3 separate regions of the Homo sapiens genome follow, and regions 2 and 3 are each linked to region 1. The links are contacts of gene promoters, found by promoter capture Hi-C in blood cells and fetal thymus (Javierre and others, 2016). All regions are on one chromosome and are shown on one strand. Each heading gives the region's core, a stretch centred on a gene start or on the middle of the fragment in contact. The rest is flanking DNA. Distances are from core to core; before and after follow the strand shown. Region 1 holds the start of FXYD4 (FXYD domain containing ion transport regulator 4). Region 2 has its middle 25 kb from the start of RASGEF1A. Region 3 overlaps ZNF487 (zinc finger protein 487).

The links. Contacts are between HindIII fragments. The CHiCAGO score rates a contact against its expected background, and 5 or more counts as called.
Region 2: a contact is called between a fragment that was not itself captured here and the fragment with the promoter of FXYD4 in region 1, in 1 of 17 cell types (naive CD8 T cells). The highest score is 5.1, in naive CD8 T cells.
Region 3: a fragment that was not itself captured here is called in contact with the fragment with the promoter of FXYD4 in region 1 in 1 of 17 cell types (erythroblasts); the score reaches 5.3 in erythroblasts.

The regions. Positions count from the first base shown.
Region 1 is chr10:43,368,846-43,373,494 of GRCh38, reverse strand. FXYD4 (FXYD domain containing ion transport regulator 4) reads right to left here and starts at 1,859. Exons shown (of 9, transcript NM_173160.3): 1 at 1,798-1,859; 2 at 723-768. The HindIII fragment of the contact is 9,288 bases long and covers 1-4,649 here.
Region 2 is chr10:43,289,411-43,294,059 of GRCh38, reverse strand. No RefSeq gene overlaps it. Among named protein-coding and RNA genes, the nearest start is that of RASGEF1A, 25 kb to the right of the region's middle. RefSeq lists an enhancer at 1-363. The HindIII fragment of the contact is 2,377 bases long and covers 1,295-3,671 here.
Region 3 is chr10:43,447,529-43,452,177 of GRCh38, reverse strand. The region is part of intron 1 of ZNF487 (zinc finger protein 487); the gene reads right to left. Among named protein-coding and RNA genes, the nearest start is that of ZNF487, 13 kb to the right of the region's middle. The HindIII fragment of the contact is 1,102 bases long and covers 1,525-2,626 here.

The sequences.
Region 1 (4,649 bases), core at 610-3,109:
GAGTAAGCACAAGCTAAGAGCTCAAAACTGTGCCTGCACAGAGTAAGTGCTGTAGAAGGCGTTGTTAAAATCCATGCGACAAACCCACCCCCTACTCCTCCCCATGAGGAAGATACTATTATTGTCTCTATTTCAGAGAAGAAAAAAAAAAATGGAGCTTAGAGAGGTGTAATCAGATGCCCAGGGTCAGGTGGCTGCTATTCTAAGTCAGGGTCTGGAGCCTGCCTTCCTAACCCCACACAAAGGGCATTGTTATCAGGCCCCAGGCTATTGTTCCCAAAGGTCTGGGCCTGGGGTGGCCAGAGTCCAGCACCCTCAGTCTGAATTCCCAGAGAGCCTCCACAAAAGCAAGGGTGTGGAGGAGGGAGGGAGTGCTGAGTCCTGGGATGAGATGACTGCAGCAGCCAGGACCTCCCCTGCCAGCCCTGGCAGGGGACCCTACTCCAGCAGACCCAGATTCTGCTCTCAGAGTATAGACCTCCTGTGGTATGACATTTCCCCCTCAGGTTGGAAGTAGCCAGGACCCCATTTACTTGTCCTTAGGGAGGCTGAGTCTTTGAGCGCAGGCCCCCTCCCAGCCCTCTGCATATTGTTAGCCTAGTGTGGTCAAGTTTTCAATACTGAAGCCATTGTCATCATCTGCTGTACCCAGCTCTGGCCTCCTGATGAGATCACAGATCCAGGGCCAGCTGTCTGGGCTGGGTCCCTTCTTAGCAACTTACCAACTGTGTGACTCTGCAGGTTCCTCACTGCTCCTTCACCAGTGTCCTGTAAAAGGAGGATCATCAGAATAGTAGCAACCTCATAAGGTTATAGCGATGGAATTACGTGAACTACTATTTGTCAAGCCTAAGAACTATGCCTAGCACACAGTAAGCACTAAAAACCTGTTACAATAAATACATCCATAGGCCGGGCGCAGTGGCTCACACCTATAATCCCAGCACTTTGGGAGGCTGAGGCGGGTGGATCACCTGAGGTCAGGAGTTCAAGATCAGCCTGGCCAACATGGCAAAACCCCATCTATACTAAAAATACAAAAATTAGCTGAGTGTGGTGACAGGCGCCTGTATTCCCAGCTACTTGGGAAGCTGAGGCAGGAGAATCACTTAAACCTGGAAGGTGGAGGTTGCAGTGAGCCGAGATCCTGGCACTGCACTCCAGCCTGGGCAACAGAGGGAGACTCCATCTCAAAATAAATAAATAAATACATCCATAAATAAACACATGGTCCTTCTGCAGTGGGAGGGAGGCACTGGAGGGAGAGACTGTTAGGCACTGCTTCTGAACATCGGTTCTTGGGCTAGGAGCAGTCTCCAAAGCTGGCTTCCCCCAGCCTTCACTGGTCTCTCTACCTTCACCAACCTGGAGTTCCTGGAATACGAGGGTCTCAACTCTAGGTCACATTTTTTATTTTATTATTATTATTATTACTATTTTTTTTTTTTTTGAGACAGGGTCTTGCTCTGTTACCCAGGATGGAGAGCAGTGGCGTGATCTCGGCTCACTGCAGCCTTGAACTCTCTTGGCTCAGGTGATCTCCTCACCTGAGTATCTCAAGCAGTTGGGACCAGAGGTATACCCCACCAGCTCATATATTCTTTAGCCAAGGGCTGGCTTCTGTTTCCTCCAACCCCCAACCCACCATCCATATGATAGTGGGTGCAAAGCAGGAGGCCTTCAAGCGGCTGCTGCAGCCATATCTGTCCTCAGACCCCTCAACAGGCTCCTCATTACTCAGAATTCTTGGGCACCCACCCCCTTCACCCAGCAGCCCCAAAGTGGACGCCTGCTCACCTGCGAGGTCACCTTGGCGAGGGCTCACCTGAGCTGGCAGCGCAGAGAACGGATCTGAGGAGGCTGCTGGGCACGTGGGTCGGCTCTTTAAACCCTGCAGCCACGCCCAGGGCTCCATGACGCAGGCTGGAGGGAACTGGTCAGGCTCCCTGCCACACCCAGGGCTGTTGGGGAGGGGCGGGCTGGGCCGAAGACCCTCTTTTGGCTTCTTTTTTTTTTTTTTTTTTTTTTTTTTTTCTTTTTTTGAGATGGAGTCTCACTCTGTCACCCGGGCTGGAGTGCAGTGATGCAATCTCAGCTCACTGCAACCTCTGCCTCCTGGGTTCAAGCAATTCCCCTGCCTCAGGCTCCCGAGTAGCTGGGACTACAGGTGCACGCCACCACACCTGGCTAATTTTTTTTGTATTTTAGTAGAGATGGGGTTTCAATGTGTTGCCCAGGCTGGTCTCCAACTCCTGAGCTCAGGCAATCCGCCCACCTCGGCCTCCCAAAGTGCTAGGATTACAAGCGTGAGCCACCGCGCCCAGCCTTTCTTTTGGCTTCTTTAGCTCACCCAGATCCTAAAAGAGGGACCTGGAGGGTGCTGGGCAGGGTGTTCCTGGGCTCTTGTGCCAGCTTTGGGGGTTCTGGGACCTCTGTGTGGGGGTGTCCTGGGGACCACGGAGGATACCAGGAGCCAGGCACTGACCTTGAGGCTCCCTGTGCTCAGCAGTGCCATGCCACTGCTGTCACTTGGGCTGGGTGTCTACTGAAGGGAGGCTGGTGGCCGATGGGCACCCCCGGGGGTGGCTCACCCTCTGACAGGGCCCTGACACCCACTTAGCCTCCCCCACAGGTGAGGGATGGGGCCAGGAGGAGGATAGACGCCCCCGGCTGAGGAGTGGGCTGCCTCCCTCTGCAGACCTCAGGCCTGCCTTGTTGCTGGGGGCCAAAGTCACCCCACACAGGCGTGTGGAGGACCCCAGGCCTCCCTAGTCTGCTGTTACCCCTCCTTAATTCTTTTCCAAATGAGGGACACTTGTCCCTGTCCAGAAGGTAAGGGGGGATGGCTGACAAGGGATGGGGGTCTCTGGGCTGGGAGGGCTGGGGAGGGCAATGATGGTTTAGTTGGTTTGTTTGTTTATTTATATATTTATTTTTGAGCTGGAATTTCGCTCTGTCGCCCAAGCTGGAGTGCAGTGGCTCGATCTTGGCACACCACAACCTCCACCTCCCAGGTTCAAGCAATTCTGTCTCAGCCTCCCGAGTAGCTGGGATTACCGGCACACACCACTGTGCCCAGCTAATTTTTGTATTTTTAGTAGAGATGGGATTTCGCTATGTTGAGCAGGCTGGTCTCGAGCTCCTGACCTCAGGCGATCCACTGCCTCGGCCTCCCAAAATGCTGGGATTACAGGTGTGAGACACTATGTCTGGCCCAGACATACTTTTAAGTGGAAAAAAAGTATAGGGCAGTCTGAATAGGATGCTGTCACTTGTGTAAAAATATAAAATATTGGTTGGGAAAGGCGGCTCACGCCTGTAACCCCAGCACTTTGGGAGGCTGAGGTGGGCCTGTGTCTGTGTGCATGCTGCATGGGGCTTAGCACAGAGGAGGCGTCCCGGTGTTTCCTCAGCCAGCTGTTTACTTGAGTTCATTGCATATATGACTGCACCTAGCCCTCACAGAAGTCTTTGGAGGTTCATACTCTCATTAGCCTGTCAATCTACAATAGTCAAACAGGTTAGATTTTAGTTTAAAGGAGTTTATTTAAGTGTAAAGGTTAAGGATGGCCTGCTCAGGAAGTAAGGATGGTAAAGAATGGAAGTCATGGCTGGGGGCGGTGGCTCACGGTTGTGATCCCAGCACTTTGGGAGGCTGAGGAGGGCAGAACATGAGATCAGGAGTTCAAGACCAGCCTGGCCAACAAGGTGAAACCCCGTCTCTACTAAAAATACAAAAATTAGCCGGGCGTGGTGGCGCGCTCCTGTAGTCCCAGCTACTTGGGAAACTGAGGCAGGAGAATCGCTTGAACCTGGGAGGCGGAGGTTGCAGTAAGCTGAGATCGTGCCACCGCACTCCAGCCTCAGCGACAGAGCGAGACTCCATCTTAAAAAAGAAAAAAAGAGAAGAATGGAAGTCAGAGTTTTAAAGTCTCGGTGGAGTGTGGGGGTTAAATCCTGACACTCTGGGAGGCCAAGGTGGGCAGATCACTTGAGCCCAGGAGTTTGAGACCAGTCTGGGCAACATAGCGAGACCCCATCTCTACAAAAAAAAATAGAACAAACAGCCTGGCGTGGTGGCACACACCTATACTCCAGCAGAGGTGGGAGGATCGCTTCAGCATGGGAGGTCAAGGCTGCTGTGAGCCCAGAAAGCACCACTGCACTCCAGCCTGGGTGACAGAGGGAGACCTGTCTCACAATAAATACGTAAAATGTAGAAGTTTGGGATCATTTATTTTATTTTTATTTTTTTGAGACAGAGTCTCATTCTGTTGAGACAGAGTCATTCTGTTGCCCAAGCTAGAGTGCAGTGGCACGATCTCTGCTCACTATAACCTCCGCCTTTTGGGTTCAAGTGATTCTTGTGCCTCAGCCTCCTGAGTAGCTGAGATTACAGGCCCGAGCCTCCATGCCCAGCTAATTTTTTCTATTTTTAGTAGAGACAGTGTTTCACTACTTTGACCAGGCTGGTCTCAAACTCCTGACCTCAAGTGATCCACCTGCCTCGGACTCCGAAAGTGCTGGGATTACAGGCATGAGCCACCGTGCCTGGCCTGGGATCGTTTATATAGACACAGTTTAGGAACGTTTAACAGGATTTTAGCTGTTTTTTTAATCTTTTTTGAGACAGGGTCTCCCTCTGTCGC
Region 2 (4,649 bases), core at 1,234-3,733, 80 kb after region 1:
ACTTCACAGTTTTTTTCTGGAGTTTCTTAGTCATGGAGCCGTGGTGCTCGGGGGCTCTCAGATACCCTAGAGTACAGCATGATCTTTTCATAGATGGGGCTGCTCTGGTCCAGGGAGGGGAAGGCCCAGAGCAAGACCCTGGGGGGTCTCAGCTGTGGCAAGCCTTTTGCTCCTGGTCACCCTGCGATTCACAGGGGTTGACACACGCAACCTCAAGCCCTCCAGAAATGCCCTCTTGGTCATGTAGTGTAGACAGGGCACTATTCAGAACCACAGTCTCGACTTCAAGTCCTGTCTTTGCCGTTTATGGCTGTGTGCCCTGGGGAATTGATTTAACCTCTCGGAGCATCTAAAATTGGGTTGCAGCTGCCCCATCACATCGAAGGGTGACTAGAAGACTGGACTGCCCTTTTCTGTTATCACTGGGTGTGTGGAGTTGATGGGAGAGAAGCAGTGCCTTTCATCTGTTCTGAAGCTGTGTTCACTCTCAGCACTTCAGAGTCAGGAGCTGGGCGGGCGGCAGGTGATTCTGCACACTTTCACCTGGAACCTGACTGGACGACCCCAGCCCTCAGTGTTTCCAACAAACCACTGAAGGACCACGAGGAAGAAGCCAGCGTCTGGGATGGTGTCCAGAACATTCTGCTGACACCTGCTGGTATGATCAAGGAAGCACCAGCTTCGACCTCGCAGAAGGGCACAGAATGGAATCTGGAGAAAGACAGCAGACGTTCTATCAGAAGTGCCATGCCACCCAGTCCTGCTGGCAAAGTGGACAGCATGGTGTGCAAAACCTGGGCATTACTGTCTCAGAATCAGAAAGGGACTCCGGCGCCTCCCTCTTGCTCAGTCTCTCTCTCCCTGCTCCCCCCCACCCCGTGATATTATTAAGGAAGAGAAACATGTTTTTAGGGACAGAAGAGGGCAGCTCTTTCTTCTGCCCTAGGGACAAGTTACTCCCAATGATTGGCAGAGCATTTGAGTCCTCGCCTCTTCCTTATGTCTCCCTGGGATTCTGTGACCTGAGAAGACAGCACAGGAATCCGTTGTATGCACAATACACACACCTGTTCTGTCAATTAAAGCAGGGAGATCATTCAAATGCAGTAGCAGTCCTCGTGAGGCCACCTGCTCTCCGCTACCAAGCCTGGGGCCCTCCCTGGAGATGACAGGGCAACCCTCCAGTGTACGTCCCTCCTGAGGGCTTCTGCTTAATTCACTTTTGTGTAATTTGAGCTTCATCTGTGAGTTAACACAAATGGATGACATGAAAAGTGTCCCATGGATTCAAGCTTCTGTGACATGCTTTTTCCACTTAGCAATGTAATCCATATTAATGCATATAGGACGACCTCATTTCTAAACTGCCGAATAGGGATCATTTATTTACACTTTTCCATGTTGCTAGACACTGGGGACATTAGTAGCTATGGACGAATTGCCCTCCAGAAATGCTGCACCTATTTACACCCCACCAATCCTAAACATTTTCATAATTCACAGTTTTTGCCAAACTGACGAGTGAAAAATGTGTCTTGTGTCTTGAGATTACGCATGTTTTCATGGATCCCAGTTGCCTGTGCTTCCTCTTCTTTGATTTGCTTGTTTATGTCCTCTCCCTACTTAGTTGTTGAATTTTCCTTAATCGTGTATCAGGGATTGTTTTTCCTGGTATAGCTGTGGCCAATGTTTCCTCTACACTGTAACTTGCCTTTTAGGTTTGCAATTAGTGTCTTTGTATGTTTGTTTTTGAGACAGGGACTCTCTCTGTCATCCAGGCTGGAGTGCAGTGGTGCCATCATAGTTCGCTGCTGCCTCAACCTCCTGGGCTCAATCTATCTTCTCACCTTAGCCTCCTGAGTAGCTGGGACTATAGTCACATGCCACTATGCCCAGCTATTTTTTGCTAGTTTTTGTAGAGATGGTATATTGCCCAGGCTGATCTTGAACTCCTGGACTCAAACAATCTGCCTGCCTCAACTTCCCTAAATGCTGGGATTACAGGTGTGAGCTATCCTGCTTTGCCTAGTGTCTTTTATTCTATAGAACATTTTTGTTTTAAATTTGATGTGGTCAAATGTATTAATCTTTCATTTGTAGCTTTTATAATTCATGTCTTAAGAATGACTTTTCTGCTGGCCAGGTGTGGTGGTTCACGCCTGTAATTCCAGCAGTTTGGGAAACCAAGGTGGGTGGATCACTTGAGGTCAGGAGTTCGAGACCAGCCTGGCCAACGTAGTGAAACCCTGTCTCTACTAAAAATGCAAAAATTAGCCGGGGGTGGTGGCATACACCTGTAGTCCCAGCTACTCGAGAGGCTGAGGCAGGAGAATCGCTTGCACCCGGGAGCGGGAGGTTTCAGTGAGCTGAGATTGCGCCACTGGACTCCAGCTTGGGCGACAGAGCAAGACTCCATCTCAAAAAAGAAATGACTTTTCTACCTCAATATATATCCTTTTATATTTTCTTCACTTATATTTTTGCATATTTTCTTTAAGTTTTATAATTTTCTTTTTTTATGAGTTGAAGGTTTTATAATTTTCTTACAATGGTTTAGATTAATACATCATCTGGATTGTTTGAGTGTTGTGAGATAGCTCTCTATCTTATGTTACAAATATAGTGAGTCAACCCAGAACCATTTTTTGAATAGCCTATATTTTCACATTCTTTTAGTTTATAGGAAGTTACTAAATGCATGGGCCTATTTCAGGACACTGTTCTTTTTTAAAGTGAGTATTTTATATATTTATTCTTTTTTAAAATGTTATTTATTATTATTTTTTTAAATTTTTTTAGAGGTGGTCTCACTCTGTTGCCCAGGCTGGAGTGTGGTGGCGTGATCATAGCTTACTGTAGCCTCAAAATCCTGGGCTCAAACGATCCACCTGTCTCAGCCTCCTGAGTAGCTCAGACTACAGGTGTGCACACCACCACACCTAGATGATTTCTATTATTGTTATTATTTTAGGCTGAGATGGGGTCTTCCAATGTTGTCCAGGCTGGCTATATGTTTATTTTTATATATTGTTTCAATTAAAATCATTTATTGCATATTTTGTGTATCACAGAGAATCTCTGCTGCATTCTTCTCTTTTTCACACTTGTCTTTTTTTGTACATTTTCTATTTCTAATTGGCTTGTCAGTTTTATAGCGGAAATCCTGTTTGATTGTAATTGATGCCAAATTTAAATTCTACACTAATTTAGGGGAAAACTGACATTTGTACCATGTTCAATCTTCCATTGAGGAACACAGTATATCTCTATTCGTGCAATACATGCTACACTTTATAGTCTTCTCCACATTGGTACTGCTCATTTTTTGTTGGGCTTCCCCTCTATGTGCTGTAACAGTGTTGCTATCATGAATGACATTTTTCTTTTCTATGTTATAATTCATCATTGCTGATAGCTAGGAGGGCTTTGTGTAGATCTTGCCACATAGTTGAATTTGTCCTAATTATTCTTATAGTTTGTTAGTTCAATTTTCTAGACAGTGTAGAAAGTCACATTGCCTGAAAAAATGACACTGCATTTTACGATAAACCTTGTGTTCTCTTGTTCATTTCCTTCCCTGTAGTTCTTAAGTCTACTGGGGTTTTCTCACTCATTTTGATAATTTGTATTTTTTCCATACATTTTTCCATGATGCCTATGATTTCAAAGCTTTCCTCATACATATTGGGCCACGAAGACTAATTTCCTTCACCCACTTCATCTTTCCCCACATCATCTGTCTGTGTTTTCTCTCTTCTCCTGACCGTCTGCCCAAGTTGCACTACCCAGGTTGGGAACGCTCATGCAAACCCCTGAGCCTCACCTGCTTCCATCGAAACTCACAGCATCACTCCATTCTGAGGGTGAGTTTTTTTCCTATTGAATTTCTAATTTTCCCATTTATTTCTATTTCATGACTTTCTACTTTTTTCTCTGTTTTTTCATTTTTGTTTTTTTGTTTGTTTGTTTGTTTGTTTGTTTGTTTTTTGAGGTAGGGTCTTGGTCTGTTGCCCAAGCTGAAGTGCGGTGGCACGATCTTGGCTCACTGCAGCTTCTGCTTCCTAGGTTCAAGCCATTCTCCCACCTCAGCCTCCCAAATAGCGGGTATTAGAGGCGCCCGCCACCACGACTGGCTAATTTTTGTATTTTAGTAGAGACAGGGCTTCACTATGTTGTCCAGGTTGGTCTCAAACTCCTGGGCTCAAGTGATCCATCCACCTCCTCACAGGTGAGGGGTAGGGGGATTCCAGGCATAAGCCACCGCACTCAGCCTTGCTTTTTTCTCTATCAATCACTTTATTCAACTTTATTGGGTTATTTTAATGTTAGTGTTCCTGTTTTTGAACTAAGATAGTAGTTCATTTATTTTTAATCTTCCTTTTCTCTAATAAACGTATTAAGGCTTCTACATTTTCTGTGGATATTGCTTTGAAACATTTCACAAGTTTAAAAAGTGGAATATTCTGTTCTGTCACCCATTTCTAAGTGGTTGGTAATTTCTATTTGGGTTTTGTTTGTTTGTTTGTTTTAGACAAGGTCTCTCTGTGTTGTCTAGGCTGGAGTGCAGTGGCTATTGTCACACGTGTGATCATTGCATACGACTCCTCCAACTCCTGGGCTCAAGTGATCTTCCTGCCTCAGCCTGCTGT
Region 3 (4,649 bases), core at 826-3,325, 78 kb before region 1:
TGGAGTCAGACTCTCTAGTTCATAAAAACTACATTTACATAGAATGTAAAAAAATGGAAAATTAAAAGAGAATTGACCAACAAAGATGAAATTGCAGCAAAGAAAAAGTGATAACACAGGAAGTGAAACTCGAATTGAGCATTTCCTGCAGTGCCACCCAGTCCTTGTTCTCATCATGCAGGTTTCCTGCTCCTCGCAGAGCCAGCAAAGTTTACTTTGCGGTGTAGGAACTCTCTTCTAGTTGTCCTCTTCTTTTCCACCCTACCATCAACTGGCAGGCTTTGCAAGTGCTCCCATAATAATGGTGCAAACTGGCCAGGTGCGGTGGCTCACGCCTGTAATCCCAGCACTTTGCGAGGCTGAGGTAGGAGGATCACCTGAAGTCGGGAGTTCGAGACTAGCCTGACCAACATGGAGAAACCCCGTCTCTACTAAAAATACAAAATTAGCCAGGCGTGGTGGCCCATGCCTGTAATCCCAGCTACTCAGGAGGCTGAGGCAGGAGAACTGCTTGAACCCGGGAGGTGGAGGCTGCAGTGAGCCGAGATCACGCCATTGCACTCCAGCCTGGGCAACAAGAGCAAAACTCCATCTCAAAAGAAAAATAATAATAATAATAATGGTGCAAACTTTGGCCAGGCACAGTGGCTCAAGTCTATAATCCCAGCACTTTGGGAGGCCAAGGCGGGTGGATCACCTGAGATCAGGACTTCGAGACCAGCCTGACCAACATGGTGAAACCCCGTCTCTACTAAAAATACAAAATTAGCCAGGCCTGGTGGCGCACACCTGTAATCCCAGCTACTCAGGAGGCTGAGGCAGGAGAATCACTTGGATCCAGGAGGTGGAGTTTGCAGTGAGCTGAGATCGCACCATTGCACTCCAGACTGGGCAACAAGAGCAAAACTCCATCTCTAATAATAATAATAATAGGCCATCCATGGTGGTTCACGCCTGTAATCCCAGCACTTTGGAAGGCCGAGGCAAGCGTATCACCTGAGGTCGGGAGTTCACAAGCAGTCTGACCAACATGGAAAAACCCCGTCTCTACTAAAAATACAAAATTAGCTGGGCGTGGTGGCACATGCCTGTAATCCCAGCTATTAGGGAGGCTGGGGCAGGAGAATCCTTGAACCTGGGAGATGGAGGTTGCAGTGAGCCAAGATCGCGCCATTGCACTCCAGCCTGGGCAACAAGAGCGAAACTCCATCTCAAAAAATAATAATAATAAAAAAATAATAATAATGGTGCAAACTCTGAAGTTTACAACGTGGCTCCAAATGTATTACTAGTAGGATCACCATAGTGCAAGTGTTATCACCTTTAGAGACGAGGAAATAGAGATGTCAAGGCTTTTTTTTCTTCTAAGTCATTGGTATCTACTGTTATTTTATACTTCACAGCCACTTAAATTTAGATGCTAAATTTACATCAGAAATACTTGATCTATAATTAGATTTTATTAAATTTACTATGGATAAAAAGGCATTCACACACCCAAATTATTCTGGGCACTTAAAAGCTTTCCGGCTGGGCATGGTGGCTCACGCCTATAATCCCAGCACTTTGGGAGGCCGAGGCGGGCAGATCACCTGAGGTCAGGAGTCGAACTCCTGGCCAACATGGTGAAACCCCGTCTCTACTCAAAATACAAAAAATTAGCCAGGTGTGGTAGCACATTCCTGTAATCCCAGATACTCAGGAGGCTGAGGCAGCAGAATCACTTGAACCCAGGATGCAGAGGTTGTGGTGAGCCGATATCTCACCATTGCACTCCAGCCTGGGCAACAGAGTGAGACTCCGTCTCAAAAAAAAACAAAGCAAAAAAGAGGCCGGGCTTGGTGGCTCACACCTGTAATCCCAGCATTTTGGGAGGCCAAGTCGGATGGATCACCTGAGGTTGGGAGTTCGAGACCAAACTGACCAACATGGAGAAACCCTGTATCTACTAAAAATACAAAATTAGCCTAGCCGGGTGTGGTGGCACATGCCAATAATCCCAGGTACTCGGGAGGCTGATGCAGGAGAATCACTTGAACCCGAGAGGCGGAGGTTGCAGTGAGCCAAGAACGTGCCATTGCACTCCAGCCCGGGCAAAAAGAGCAAAACTCCGTCTCAAAACAAAAAAGTTTTCCAATAACTGAATCAAGTATCAGTATTTAAATTAAAACTTACATTAAAAGTAAAAGTAAACATTCAGGCCTGGCATGGTGGCTCACACCTGTAATCACAGCACTTTGGGGGCCAAGGCAGGTGGATCACCTGAGGTCAGGAGTTCGAGACCAGCCTGGCCAACATGGGGAAACCCCGTCTCTACTAATAATACAAAAATTAGCCAGGAGTGGTGGTGGGTGCCTGTAATTCGAGCTACTTGGGAGGCTGAGGCAGGAAAATCACTTGAACACAGGAGGCGGAGGTTACAGTGAGCTGAAATAGTGCCACTGCACTCCAGACTGGGCGACAGAGTGAGACTCAGTCTCATTAAAAAAAAAAAAAAAATGCTTCAATACATGTTAACTGCTGAGGAACATTACAACAATATAAACAGAAATAAGCTCAAAATGCATGTTGAAGCATTACAAAATACTGAAAAGGAATTTTTTTTTAAATACTGAATTCACAAGCTTATAGTTCACTTCTGTAACACAGCTGTTAACTCTTCCTTGGTTACTTACATAATGTTAGACTGAATTAAGTAGAATTTTCCTATGAAATTAGCTTTAAATAGTGAGTTGACTTGAATAATAATATATGCATCACTGTGCTTCAACATCCAGTCCATTTCTATTCTCTGTGACTTGTGTATGTCAATATATACCAGTGTCTTGTGGTTTCTCTCTTTTCAGTACCATTAGATATACAGTTGATTTTTTTTTTTGGAGACAGAGTCTCGCTCTGTCGCTGAGGCTGGAGTGCAGTGGCACAATCTTGGCTCACTGCAACCTTCGCCTCCCAGGTTCAAGCGATTCTCCTGCCTCAGCCTCCAAAGTAGCTGGGATTACAGGCCCACGCCGCCATGCCCTGCTAATTTTTTGTATTTCAGTAGAGACAGGGTTTCACCATGTCCCCCAGGCTGGTCTCAAACTCCTGAGCTCAGGCAATCTGCCTGGCTCACCCTCCCAAAGTGCTGGGATTACAGGCCTGAGCCACTGCACCCAGCCTTTTTTTTTTTTTTTTTTTTTCGGAGACAGGTTCTTACTCTGTCACCCAGCCTGGAGTGCAGTGATGCAATCAGAGCTCACCACAGCCTCTATCTCCTGCTCAAGTGATCCTCCTGCTTCATCCTCTCCAGTAGCTGGGACTATGGGCATCTGCCACAATGCCCAGCTCATTTTTTTTATTTTTATATATTTATTTTTTTGAAACGGAGTCTTCCTCTGTCACCTAGGCTGGAGTACAGTGGCAAGATCTTGGCTCACTGCAACCTCCATCTCCAAGGTTCAAGCGATTCTCCTGTCTCAGCCTCCCCGATAGCTGGGACTACAGGTGTGCGCCACCGCGCCCAGCTAATTTTTTATATTTTTGGTAGAGACAGGGTTTCGCCATCTTGGCCAGGTCAGTCTCAAACTCCTGGCCTCAAGTGATCCACTTGCCTCGGCCTCCCAATGTGCTGGGATTACAGGCAGGAGCCACCGCACCCAGCCGACCCCATCTCCTTAAAAAAGAAAAAAATCCACATATACATAGACCCACACAGGTCAAACCCATTTTGTTTAAGGGTCAACTGTACTTTTATTATTAGAATTCAATAAGAGATGAAATGAATGCTTGATGCCCCATCTTCAATTCTCCACTTCAGCGCAAGACGAATTGAGTAACAGGGACCAGGTTATATTGGAAAAAAAAAACATTTTTTGACAAAACGTAAGGACAAAAATGGTTTCCAATTGGCCAGGCATGGTGGCTCACGCCTGTAATCCCAGCACTTTGGGAGGCTGAGGCAGGTGGATCACGAGGTCAGGAGATCGAGACCATCCTGGCCAACACGGTGAAACCCCGTCTCTACAAAAAATACAAAAAATTAGCCGGGCATGATGGCAGGCACCTATAGTCCCAGCTACTCCGGAGGCTGAGGCAGGAGAATAGCGTGAACCCGGGAGGTGGAACTTGCAGTAAGCCGAGATCGCACCACTGCACTCCAGCCTGGGCGACAGAGTGAGACTCCGTCTCAAAAAAAAAAAAAAAAAAAAAATGGTTTCCAAGACCCTGAACATCAGAAAACAGAGAGTAATCCCTAAGAGATAGGAAACAAATGAGATGAGTCCTACAAGTGCCCCAGCTAACTGACTTGAGTAGTTTGTAGAATGTGCTACAAGGAAAAATAACTAAGGCAGAGCCTGGCAGATTCCTTGAGTTGAAAAGATAGATTTGATAGTCTGGGGAGACACAGGCAGCTAGAATTCACAGAACACAGCACCAGAGAAGAAAGAGCTGCATGGAGAGAAAACCCCAGAGACCTGCAGCGTCCCACTTGAGAGCTCAGCAGTGTATTGATCAGTACATGAGTATAAGGGCATTACCCACATCTGTCAAAAGAACCATCTAAAAAGATCAGAGGGAATAGTGCCCAGTGCTCACACAGGGCATGGAATAGTGCCTGTTCCTACACCAGGCAGATTAGAAATGTCATAATTCAGGCTGTGCGTGGT